Regions from separate parts of the Homo sapiens genome. Here regions 2, 3 and 4 are each linked to region 1. Evidence: promoter capture Hi-C in 16 types of primary human blood cells and fetal thymus (Javierre and others, 2016). All regions are on one chromosome and are shown on one strand. Each heading gives the region's core, a stretch centred on a gene start or on the middle of the fragment in contact. The rest is flanking DNA. Distances are from core to core; before and after follow the strand shown. Region 1 holds the start of TMCC3 (transmembrane and coiled-coil domain family 3). Region 2 overlaps PLXNC1 (plexin C1). Region 3 overlaps PLXNC1 (plexin C1). Region 4 overlaps PLXNC1 (plexin C1).

What was found. Contacts are between HindIII fragments. The CHiCAGO score rates a contact against its expected background, and 5 or more counts as called.
Region 2: a fragment that was not itself captured here is called in contact with the fragment with the promoter of TMCC3 in region 1 in 1 of 17 cell types (neutrophils); the score reaches 6.5 in neutrophils.
Region 3: a fragment that was not itself captured here is called in contact with the fragment with the promoter of TMCC3 in region 1 in 1 of 17 cell types (neutrophils); the score reaches 6.8 in neutrophils.
Region 4: a fragment that was not itself captured here is called in contact with the fragment with the promoter of TMCC3 in region 1 in 1 of 17 cell types (neutrophils); the score reaches 8.1 in neutrophils.

Annotation. Positions count from the first base shown.
Region 1 is chr12:94,649,299-94,651,998 of GRCh38, reverse strand. TMCC3 (transmembrane and coiled-coil domain family 3) reads left to right here and starts at 1,442. Exons shown (of 4, transcript NM_020698.4): 1 at 1,442-1,646. The coding sequence starts at 1,569. LOC105369914 (a long non-coding RNA gene) reads right to left here. Exons shown (of 2, transcript XR_945225.4): 1 at 2,396-2,700; 2 at 997-1,094. RefSeq lists silencers at 1,319-1,488, 1,509-1,978, 2,069-2,198 and an enhancer at 1,275-1,990. The HindIII fragment of the contact is 10,368 bases long and covers 1-2,700 here.
Region 2 is chr12:94,163,588-94,166,287 of GRCh38, reverse strand. The region is part of intron 1 of PLXNC1 (plexin C1); the gene reads right to left. Among named protein-coding and RNA genes, the nearest start is that of PLXNC1-AS1, 12 kb to the left of the region's middle. The HindIII fragment of the contact is 2,605 bases long and covers 41-2,645 here.
Region 3 is chr12:94,256,595-94,259,294 of GRCh38, reverse strand. All of the region lies in intron 17 of PLXNC1 (plexin C1), which reads right to left. Among named protein-coding and RNA genes, the nearest start is that of PLXNC1-AS1, 81 kb to the right of the region's middle. The HindIII fragment of the contact is 3,447 bases long and covers 1-2,700 here.
Region 4 is chr12:94,205,721-94,208,420 of GRCh38, reverse strand. The region is part of intron 4 of PLXNC1 (plexin C1); the gene reads right to left. Among named protein-coding and RNA genes, the nearest start is that of PLXNC1-AS1, 31 kb to the right of the region's middle. RefSeq lists an enhancer at 623-692. The HindIII fragment of the contact is 7,278 bases long and covers 1-2,700 here.

The DNA.
Region 1 (2,700 bases), core at 193-2,692:
AGCCAGTGTGTTTTGCCCATCTTCAATCGCTGCTTCACCCTGATGTCAGATATACCTTCTCCTTAAACTTCCATTCCCATGCTATCATTTCCCTGTTCAAGAATTTCCAACAGCTACCCAGTTCCCACAGAATAAGGCTGAACTTCTTACCCTTGAACGAAGATTCTGCATGGTCTCTGCCTTCTTTTCCATCATGTCTTCCTGTTCCTGAGGACACTCCCCAAAACTGATGACTTGAGGTTTTCCCAAATGTACCTCTGATTTTAGGGGCTCCAAAGTTTTCTTCAGCCTGCTCTACCGTCCCCTTTGAACCCTATGAGGGAAATCCTTCCCTCCCCCTGGACTGGTCACACTGGGCTCCAGGTCCTCTCTGGAACAGCTGCACTTTAAATATTTCAGCCCAGTCTCCCACTGTACACCCTACAGAGCCAGAACAGGTGTTTTGAATTTTGTTTGGGGTTACTGATATTTAAATTGTTCACCAATGGTCCTTCCTCTTCTAAACTCCAAATTCCTTGTGGGCAGGGACTGATGACTGGGAATGGGGAATACTAAAATGAAAAGATATCCTGACTTCCAAGTAGCTTAAAACATAAAGGTAAGCTGGGCACAGTGGCTCACGCCTGTAATCCCAGCACTTTGGGAGGCTAGGGCAGGTGGATCACGAGGTCGGGAGATCGAGACCATCCTGGCTAACATGGTGAAATCCCGTCTCTACTAAAAATACAAAAAAATTTAGCTGGGTGTGGTGGCAGGCGCCTGTAGTCCCAGCTACTTGGGAGGCTGAGGCAGGAGAATGGCGTGAACCCGGGAGGCGGAGCTTGCAGTGAGCCGAGATTGCGCCACTGCACTCCAGCCTGGGTGACAGAGCGAGACTCAGTCTCAAAAAAAAAAAAAAAAGAAAGAAACATAAAGGTGAGCCAGATATGCAAAATTAAAATACACAACACAGTAGGATCTTAGTTTAAGTGGAAGTATGCTCTATGCTCAGGGCAATCATGGTCGGGGGGAGTTTTTATTTTATTTCATTTTTTTACTTTAAATCTCTGGTCTCTAGTCCAGCGTCTGGTACATGGCAGCTGCCCAGTAAGTGCCTGTTGAATGGAGAATAACATAAAAAGAGGCATTTAAGGCAAGTGTCAACTTCTTGCAGTAACAGTCACCTTTTATATATAAAATAAGTCAACAGATAGTGTAGTGTGGATGTCGCTTATCTTTTGGGGAGAAAGAGGGCTGTGTGGGAGGGGATGGAATCAACTTTCAGCCAGGGAGGGAGGCGAAGACATTGCCTCCCGGGTCGGGGGTGGGTGGGGGGTCCAGGCGGCTGCGGGGCGCGGGAGAGGCGGGGAGAAGGGAAGGGGGAGGAGACTCTCGCCTCCTGCCCCGCCTCCCCCACCCCGCGGCGGCGGCGGCGCAGGGCGGCCGCGCGGGTGTTGGCACCAGAGGCAACAGCTGCAGCAGCCGCGCCGCCCCCTCGCCCGCGGCTCCCAGGGTGATCCCGAGCACAGCCGGTGGCTCGCGGCGCGGCAGCCCCAGAAGACGGGAAAGTTCGCGGCCGGAGCGCGGAGATGCCGGGCAGCGACACGGCGCTCACCGTGGACCGGACCTACTCGTACCCCGGCCGGCACCACCGCTGCAAGAGCCGGGTGAGCGCAGCGGGCTGGGGGGCGGCGGGTGCGCGCGGGCCCGGGGGCGAGGCGGGCTGGGGCGGCGGCTCAGTGCTAACCCACGCGCCCCCGGCGTTTCGCCGCCGCCCTCCGCTGCCGCCGGAGGTCCGTGCCTCCCCGATCCTCCGAGCTAAAAGGGTGGGCGTCGGGGGCGTCGGAGCCCAGGCTGCGGTTCTGGGATCCCAGGTCCGCCTGCCCCTCACGGCGCCCAGGTCCCCGCGCGCTATGCGGGACGCCCGGTTCCCCGACGGCCCGCGCTCTGCTGTCCTCCCCGCCAGGGAGCGCCCGCCGCTCCGCGAGGGAATCCCGCCACCCGGCCACCCGCGGCCCCGCGTCTCCAGGTCTCCGGGGTCTCGCCCTGGGTGTGACGGTGCCCTCCCCGCCGAACGTCCCGGCGGCCGCCCTGTCTCCCTGTCCTCGGGGCGTGTGGCCGGAACCCGAGCGCGGTGCGCAGCCGGAGCGCGGGGAGGCGGCGGACGGGCTCTGCCCAAGTGAAAAGTCAGAATCTTTGCGCTGCCTCTCCGGAGTTTCGAGCCGAGCCGAGCAGGCGCCCTCGCCATTGTTTGCAGTGTAATTTGCTGTTGCTGATTTTGGCTGTGGGCGAAAATAGCTCATTCTGAGCCTGCTGCAGAGACGAGCCCTGTAGGGCTTCAAAATAAAGACGGAGGCCGCAGCCCAAGCGCGGGTCTGTCCTGGGAGAGGAAGCCTTCGCCCTCCCCGGTGAATACCTTTGCCCTCCCGGGCTGTTGAATCGTCGAGGCTGGATGTGAGGCTCTGTAACCCGTTCTCCCCAGGGCTGATTGAAGTGCCATTTAACAAAGCACCTCCTCCACGCTGGCATCTGTTCTGGCAGGAGGCACCTGGAGTTGTTCTTTGCTCCGCCAACTACTTACTCGCTTGTCCGAGAACTGGGGATTTGGGTGTCAGCCTCTGTGTAAAGTTCACGGAGGGAGAGCCGGGCTCAGATTCTGGCCTGCCACTTCCAAGATCGAGAGACCAACTGGATGGAAATAGTAGCAATAGTGACGGGGTT
Region 2 (2,700 bases), core at 94-2,593, 490 kb after region 1:
TGAGGACTGGGTGAGTTTGTGCGTAAGCCTCAGTAAAGCTTAGAACAGGTTTGGCACATAGCAACACATAACCCATGCTTGCTATCATTACTTCATTTAAAAACACAAGTTACTGCCACACCCATGGCAGTTATTTTCTCTTTGCCAAGAAGAACCCTAATTTTGTTCAGACAGCAATGAACCCAAGCCTGGTGGAAGCTATCGTTGGGCCAAGCCAAATGGCAGCTCCATTCCCTATTGCCAGACACTGGCTTTCCTAACCCTTAGAGCTGAGGGTGGTCATGTGGCCCAGTCCTGGGCAGGGAGATGTGAGAAGTCCACTGGAAGGATTTCTGGGAATAAGTTTCCTCATTGATAACAGAAGCCTCTTGAGGAGAACCCGTTTGCCCTCTTCCCTCACTTCCTCCTCTGGAATACAGTTGTGTGATCTCATCATGCATAGACTCGTGGCAACCGTTCTGTTTCCATGAGATTCAAGATGAAGGATACAAAGCAACATGCTAAGATTGGTGCAGGGGAAAGAAAAGAGATTCTATGTTCCTGGAGACACCACTGAGCCGCAGACCTTCAACTTTTAAACATTTTACTAAGTTAACAATAGTTGTCATGGTTTAAGCCACTGTTGGTTGCGTTTTCTGCTACTTGGAACCAAAAGGAAGTCACTGTTTAAGAAATGACAATCACAACTTGTTGGAGCGGACACTAAACTGCAGTTCTTCCCCAGCTGCAGGGACCAGGACGTGGACAAATGCTTGTTCCTCTCACCAGCCTGGAGGACCCTGGCCACAGTCAGGATTTTGCAGCCTATTACAACAGCGAGCCTGGAAGAAAACAGGAGAGGAGGCTTGGACCTCATGAAAACTCTAGGGGCTGCTCTGGCTGAATGGAAATGGATTCTTTTGTGCTGGAAACACACAGAAATGGACAGGTCCCTGTGAATGGGAAAAGGAACCCTTTGAATGGCTTTCTTATGCTTATTGCAGCAAATGAAAACAAAAGAAAGACAGGCTCCGGAGAAACGTCCTCACAAAAGTGAGGTTAATACCCAGGGAGCCAGGCAGAAGAAGGGGGAAACAGTGCAGTCAGCCCCCTGTGTCCAGAGATTATTCTTTCTCTCTTTTTTTCGGGCCTATTTTCTATCTTGCCCTTCTCTCCCCTTAGGGCATAATCGCTAATGTTGCTCTCAGCCTATTCTGTCTAGTTTATTATGTGTAATTTATTTCTGAATCCCAGCCTCTGCTTGTTCGTCTGTGTGTAACAAGGTTAATGCCTTGTAATGATGCTTTTGCCAGTTCTGCCTTTCATGACAAAATCCGATCTTGATTTCGCTCTAAACCTTGTCTCCCCTTTGGGCTTTCTTGGTTCCCTCAGAGTTGTCACTCTGCTTCTCCTTCCTGCCGTGTCTAAGCATAACGTCACGCCTACACGTTTGCCGGCTCTAAGAGGGAAACTTTTCTCAGTTGGAGGAGAAAGCTACCTTGGCTCAAGCGATGTTTGGGCTGAAAGAGAGAAAGAGCTTTGGGCCTGATATAGCAAACTGGGACCAAAGCTCCTGAGGTGTGTGTGTGTTTGTGTGTGTACGTGTGTGTGTGTGTGTGTGTGTGTGTGTGTGTGTGTGTGTGTGTGCAGGGAGTCATGGGCATATCATGAGGAAAACAATTAGACTTCTTTGCAGCTGCTTCATATGATTTTTCATGGACAATAAATACTCTCCCATTGTGCCCTGCACAACTGCAGGGGGTGCCAGTCATGCATTCCAGGGTGTGAAAGGCACCCTCTAGAGCTGAGCCACAGCTTGGCCCTGCCCCTACCATGTGAAAGATGGCCCGGCTCATCGAGGCAGGGTGCTCACAGCCATGCTCCAGCTTTTGCGGCATCATCGGGAGGGAATGGGCACAAAACTGGGGCCTCCAATGTTGAGCACCAAGCAAGAGTCAAGTGTTTTACCCCCAAGGTGCTAAAAGGATTCCTGTATGTTGATTTTACCTTACCAGGTGGGAGGAAATACCAACTGGGTACCTATCAATTTCTTGTACATGACAAAATGCCTTTCTTGGGCAGTTAATTTTATATTCTGTTCCCTTTGGGATCCCTTTGTTTTGAAGCAGTTTCATCATTTTCTGTTACTTCCCAAGGGGCCCACTTGCCATTAGGAAACCCCTGAAGGAGCCCTGCACCCAAGTTCTGGCCCCTGCTCTGTGCCTTATAGACTGCTTGATTCCAGCAAGTTAAGTCTCCTGAACCTCAGTGACTGTATCTGTAAAATGGACCTAATAATACCACATGCCCTGCCTCTCAGTGTTGTTGTGAGGTCCAGATGAAATCATGTGTTTGAAAATAATTAGATTACTTTTATTCAGCTAAGGAGATGGAAAGGACAACTATTTGCCCAAGTCGGACAGTGATTTTATTAGCTAGGAAGGCTCGGGTTGCTTTTCTCCATTCTAGTGTATACAGTGTTGACCGGGATCTGACTAAGTTATGGCAGCTCTCTGATCGTCTGAAGGAAGAATTTACACTGGGGACTCAAATGACCAAAAGGAGAGGTTCAAAGTGTGCTTAGGGACACAGCTGGGCAGCCTCTAGACCAGAAAACATCACTGGTGTGCAGCACAGCCGTGGGAAGCATGCAAGGTGGTGAAGCTTGTATTTCACCTCCTTCTACCCTCTCCCCTCCCTCGACGGGCCCCAGTGTTCCCA
Region 3 (2,700 bases), core at 97-2,596, 390 kb after region 1:
GAAATGAAGAGTGTATTTTTGTTATAATACCCAAGTCCGTTTTAATAAAGTAGAGACACTATTTGCTAATCTGAAGCGCCCCTGGGTTTATGGTGGCTGCGTATTCTCTAATACATAATAAATAATTATTCAGCTTTCAAGAAACGCCACTGAATTCCGAAAGCCTCTAAGAATAATAATTATCATGGCATTAGTTCCAGGTTTGGTAGATGAAGGTATCATCCCACGTTTTAGAAGAAGTGATTTAAGAGTTAAAGAAGGGGTCATTGATGAAGATTATGCAAATATCAGACCCCTCTTCAAGCAATTTACCTTCTAAAGATAAAGACTAAATTACGTTGTTAAGTTTTACAAGTCTTACCTAAGTAGCATCTACTGTTTCAATACACAATGATATTGAAAGACAGGGGGTAGTTAAAAGCATAGAATCTGGACCAAACTACTTGGGTTCCAGTCCTGGTTTTAATCACATACTGGTCACATGACGTGGGATGTGTTACCTAACCTCTCTGTGTCTGACTTGCCTCATCTCTGAAATGGGGACAGTAATGGTTCCCACCTCAGAGGTTTAGTGTGAAAATAAAATGGGTGCAGAGTAAGTGCCCTGTGTCAGTTATCATTACTGGTTTTATTCCTAATTTATAGCAAACTAGACCACAATGCTATCACCCCACTGGTTTCTAAATGCTAGGTAGCTCTGGAATATAAAAAGGGTTTATAGTGTATCATCAATCTTATTAAAAATCAATGGTTAAACTTTAAAAGTATGTTAAGCAATACTTTAAGTCCACAGAATGAGACTCTAAACTCAAAACATTCAAGTTTTTCTTCTTTTTTGATAATAATAGAAACTTTGAGCTAATTTTATATCTTGTGAAGTAAATTTCTTCTGTAGAGAATTTTGCTTCATAGTTTCAAATCTGCAAGCCCAAGCAAAAGACCTGAAACTATTTTGGCCATATCCTCCCCTAGTAAAAAGCAAAAAAGCCCCAAAAAAACAAACCAAAAAAACCCCCAGACCCTAGGTTTGCATTTTCTGGTTCTTAATATTTTTCTGCTGAACCAACTTCATGTAAATAGACAGGAGAAACAGGTTGATTCTTAATCGTAAATACGGAAGTGCCGCCCTGGTTCTCTCTGTGTGTTTTTTTGTTTGTTTTGTTTTTTTGAGACGGAGTCTTGCTCTGTCGCCCGGGCAGGAGTGCAGTGGCGCGATCTCGGCTCACGGCAACCTCTGCCTCCCGGGTTCAAGCAATTCTTTATTTTTTTTTGAGACGGAATCTCCCTCTGTCGCCCAGGCTGGAGTGCAGTGGCGTGATCTCGGCTCACTGCAACCTCCGCCTCCCAGGTTCAAGCAATTCTTTTTATTTATTTATTATTTTTTTTGAGACAGAGTCTCGCTCTGTCGCCCAGGCTGGAGTGCAGTGTGGCGCTATCTCGGCTCACTGCAAGCTCCGCCTCCCAGGTTCACACCATTCTCCTGCCTCAGCCTCCCGAGTAGCTGGGACTACAGGCGCCCGCCACCATGCCTGGCTAATTTTTTTGTATTTTTAGTAGAGACGGGGTTTCACTGTGTTAGCCAGGATGGTCTTGATCTCGGGTTCAAGCAATTCTCTGCCTCAGCCTCCCGAGTAGCTGGGATTACAGGTGCACGCCACCATGCCTGGCTAATTGTGTATTTTTAGTACAGACGGGGTTTCACCATGTTGGCCAGGCTGGTCCCTAACTCCTGACCTCAAGTGATCCACCCGCCTCGGCCTCCCAAAGTGCTGGGATTACAGGCTTGAGCCACCGCGCCTGGACCCGTGGCTCTCTGAGTTTTAAGGCTGCTTCCTCCTTTCATTCAAATTTCCCTTTTCTTCAGCTTAGATCCTCTGCCTACCCTTATTTCTTCTCCTACTTTATGCAAAGCAAAGAAGAGTCAATAAAATAAAAAGCAAGGCTTTAAAAGCCAAAACCGACAGGCAGAGCAAAGAACCCTGGCCTCCTTTGAGAACCTACAATCTCCTCTGGATTTTGCCTGTTGCTTTTTTGTAGGTGCTGAACACCCAAATCCTACCCCCACAGCCCCCAACCTCCAGGCCTAGAGGATTCGGCTTCTGATCAATCCATAAAGAGCCTAATTAATACCAGGACTTATCTGCAGCCTGGAATGCATTTAAGTGGCATTGTCTTCTTACGATCTGTTTCCCTGTTCTATCTTTTCTTAATTATTATAAAATCAGTTTTGACTTAGGTCTTCTTGAAAGGGTTCTGACAAATTTATGCATGTTTTTTCCTGGGTTCTCTCCTTTAAACAACTTCTGACTTCAATTTTTATGACTTTCCCAGTTGTTTTTCAAGATTATACACAACACTGAGTTAAATCAGTTTGCCTCCTTTGCAACTATCTCTCTTCTCCTAAAATAAGGTAGCATTGTTCCTGGGATCTTTTTTTTTTTTTTTTTTTTGGAAACACTCAACTTGCAACAGTGTTCCTTTACATTCATTACTCTATCTTGTTCTTGATTACCAAATTTAGAAGATAAGAACATTTCTTTTTTCAGGCCACAGATTATTCAGCACTCAAGGGCAATCATTAACTGTAAAAGCCCACACAGCATTCATGTTGATAGTCAAAAATCTCCGTTATTTTATTGCTTTTAAATTCTTAATGGGGATCTCAGATAGCTCAGAAATAGGACTCGTGATGCAACCTTT
Region 4 (2,700 bases), core at 129-2,628, 440 kb after region 1:
GAATTTAGGCCTCATGGCTTCATCTTTGAGCTCTGTGTTAATTTGAATATGGCAAAAATAGAACAGGAAGTCAGTGAGTTTCACTAAACGTCATCCCCAAGCACAATACCTTTAGCATGTCACCGGCTTCTGACATTTGGGGAACCCTGCTCCCAATAAGCACATCTGTGTTCCACCTCCCACTACATCTGTGTCAGTTTCTTCTCCAACATTATAACCATGGGGATTTTCATCGGCAATTCTCCAAAGCCATAAATTTATCTGACCCTTGATGGCTAGCTCATCCGTCAAAGACATTAAGTTCAAATTAAACCGCCTGTCAATGTCAGAGAGAGTTTGCAACGGAGAGACAAGCACTGCTGGATTGAAAAACAGAATGACGAAGCTGGTTCTTTCGGTTGTATCTGAAATAGATCATGACTGTCAAAAACTCCCTGCCTCTCATGGGCACTCCGGTTTGTGTAAGGCACTTCCTCTGCCTATAAGAAAAAAAAAAATAAGCCAATTCCGAAGAGACTGGAGTACAAATATTTTTGTTGGCTCTTAATGCTGCCTGGGAGTCAAAGCCTAAGGCTGCCAAAAAAACAAGTGTAAAATATTTCATACAAATAGTGCTACAATTTGCCAATTTGTAGGCAGAAAACAGTAGTGCCACTGAGTTATCACTCCCTTTTCTGAACTCCTATAGCATTTCTTGTCAGAAGTACATATTTCGGTATTTAATCATATGCTGCCTCGAATTACAACTTAACTATTTCATAAGTCTATCTCAGTTCTCCCCAAGTAAGCTCTAAGCTCCTCAAAGAAGGGAGAAGGTCTTTAATATTTCTTTAGCAAATCCCTCAGTGTCTGGCAGCATGATATGCAAATACTAGGGTTTCAATAAATATTTTTGAATGAAAGGATGAAATATGAAATCTCTATAGGTCTTTTCTGTTGCTGATTTTTCTTTCTAGAGTTTTAATTCATGTCTGACTCCTCCTCATGCCAAAGAGACTATTTTTAAAACAAGCAAAAAGTTTAAATCTGGGGACAAATTGGGGGTGAGGTTTCCATTTTACTTTTTGAAAAAAAAAGGGAAAAGAAAGTATAAAATGAACCTTTCATTTTTTATTCTGCATAAGGCAAAAACAAAATCTAACCATGTTAAGCAACTAAACATAAATTCCTTGTTTTTATATATATATAAAAAAACAACCCACCACCTCTGAACTCCTATTCTTTGCCTCTCACCAGTACAAATAAAAAATGAAAAAATAAAAAGCAAACCATGACACCAAGTATGTATAACCAGATGGCCAGCCAACAACAGTATCTTATTACTTCTCAAATACTGCAGATTATAAAATCTTCATGACAGCATATTACTCATACATTTACATTTCTTACAGAGCAGATCTTATAGCTCCCATATTTTAGTAAACAAAGCTAGTTACTCTGAAATAATTCCTTTTGAAAGCTATCACTCTAATTCCTGCGTATCAACAAGAGCAACGGTCAAGTGCATAAACACTTGAGCCACTGCCCTAATTAAATTAAAATCTCATTGTCACACAGGACTCTTAGTGAGGCTGATTCTTCAGTGATGCACTCTCAGATAGGCTGATATCTTAATGGCTTCATTTCAATTTCTTCAGGCCAAGAATAGGAGGAAAATTGGATTTGGATAAGAATGGACATATTCTAGGGAAACTGGTAGAGATATATTTGCTTTCTTGACTTACTATTACTTTTGCTCCATCCTCTACTGAGGATCTATCCCAAAGTCCTCAGACTCCCAGTCAGTATTTTATTTTTCTAGTCCTTATTTCCACTTAGAGCTAATACTTTCATGATAAAGCCTGCAGGCAGACACAAGCCTATTTGCAAATTAGAATACAGAACCTGCCCAAATGCAAAGAAAAGATTGCCTGAAGGAAAAAAAAAAAAATCCCCCAAACCAAAAAGTTAATTTAAAAAGACTTCCCTTATGTGAAAAACACTGTATGTAGAAACAATTCAGTCAATGAAACTATTTAAGAAAGCTGTTCTTGTTAGTTTGCTATAAAATCTGCTGTAGAGCTTAATGTATTCGAGATAATACTAGAGTTTGATATTGGCATTCAACTATATAAGTATGTAACCGCCCCCTCCCTCACCCCCAACAGATTTAAAAAAAAAAAAAGTTCCAAACCTACTCCGGCCCCAAGTCATAAACAGGAAGGTCCCAGACACTTGTTTCTAAGTTCACTGTTTGAAAACTTAGAAAGTCTTTATATACAGTGGGTTTGCTTCCTGGGTTCATAGAAATATGTGTAACCCATAATATCCCTGAATAATTACCCCACCACAGACTGGCATGGAGGAAACATTACTGTGTGCCAGGCACTGATGGGAGTGTTTGCAGTTAGTTCTCACAACAACCTCACTCTTTACGGATGAAACAGAAGCTCAGAGAAGTACAGTAACATATCAAGGCCACATAGCTGCCAAGTGGCAGAAGTCTGATTTCAGAGCCCACAAACTTGGCCCCCTGGCTTCATGCCTTCCTATAGATCCTAACCACCACTTAATAGAGGACATTCATAGTTCCTCCTGGCTTCCTGGGACCTCAACCAGTGGTTGCAGGGTGGAGCTGGGCCAGGATGAGGACACAGGGATGGGGACCCCAGAAACAGAGAAGACAGAAGGTAAGGCAGAGACTGTAGGATGAAGCGGTTA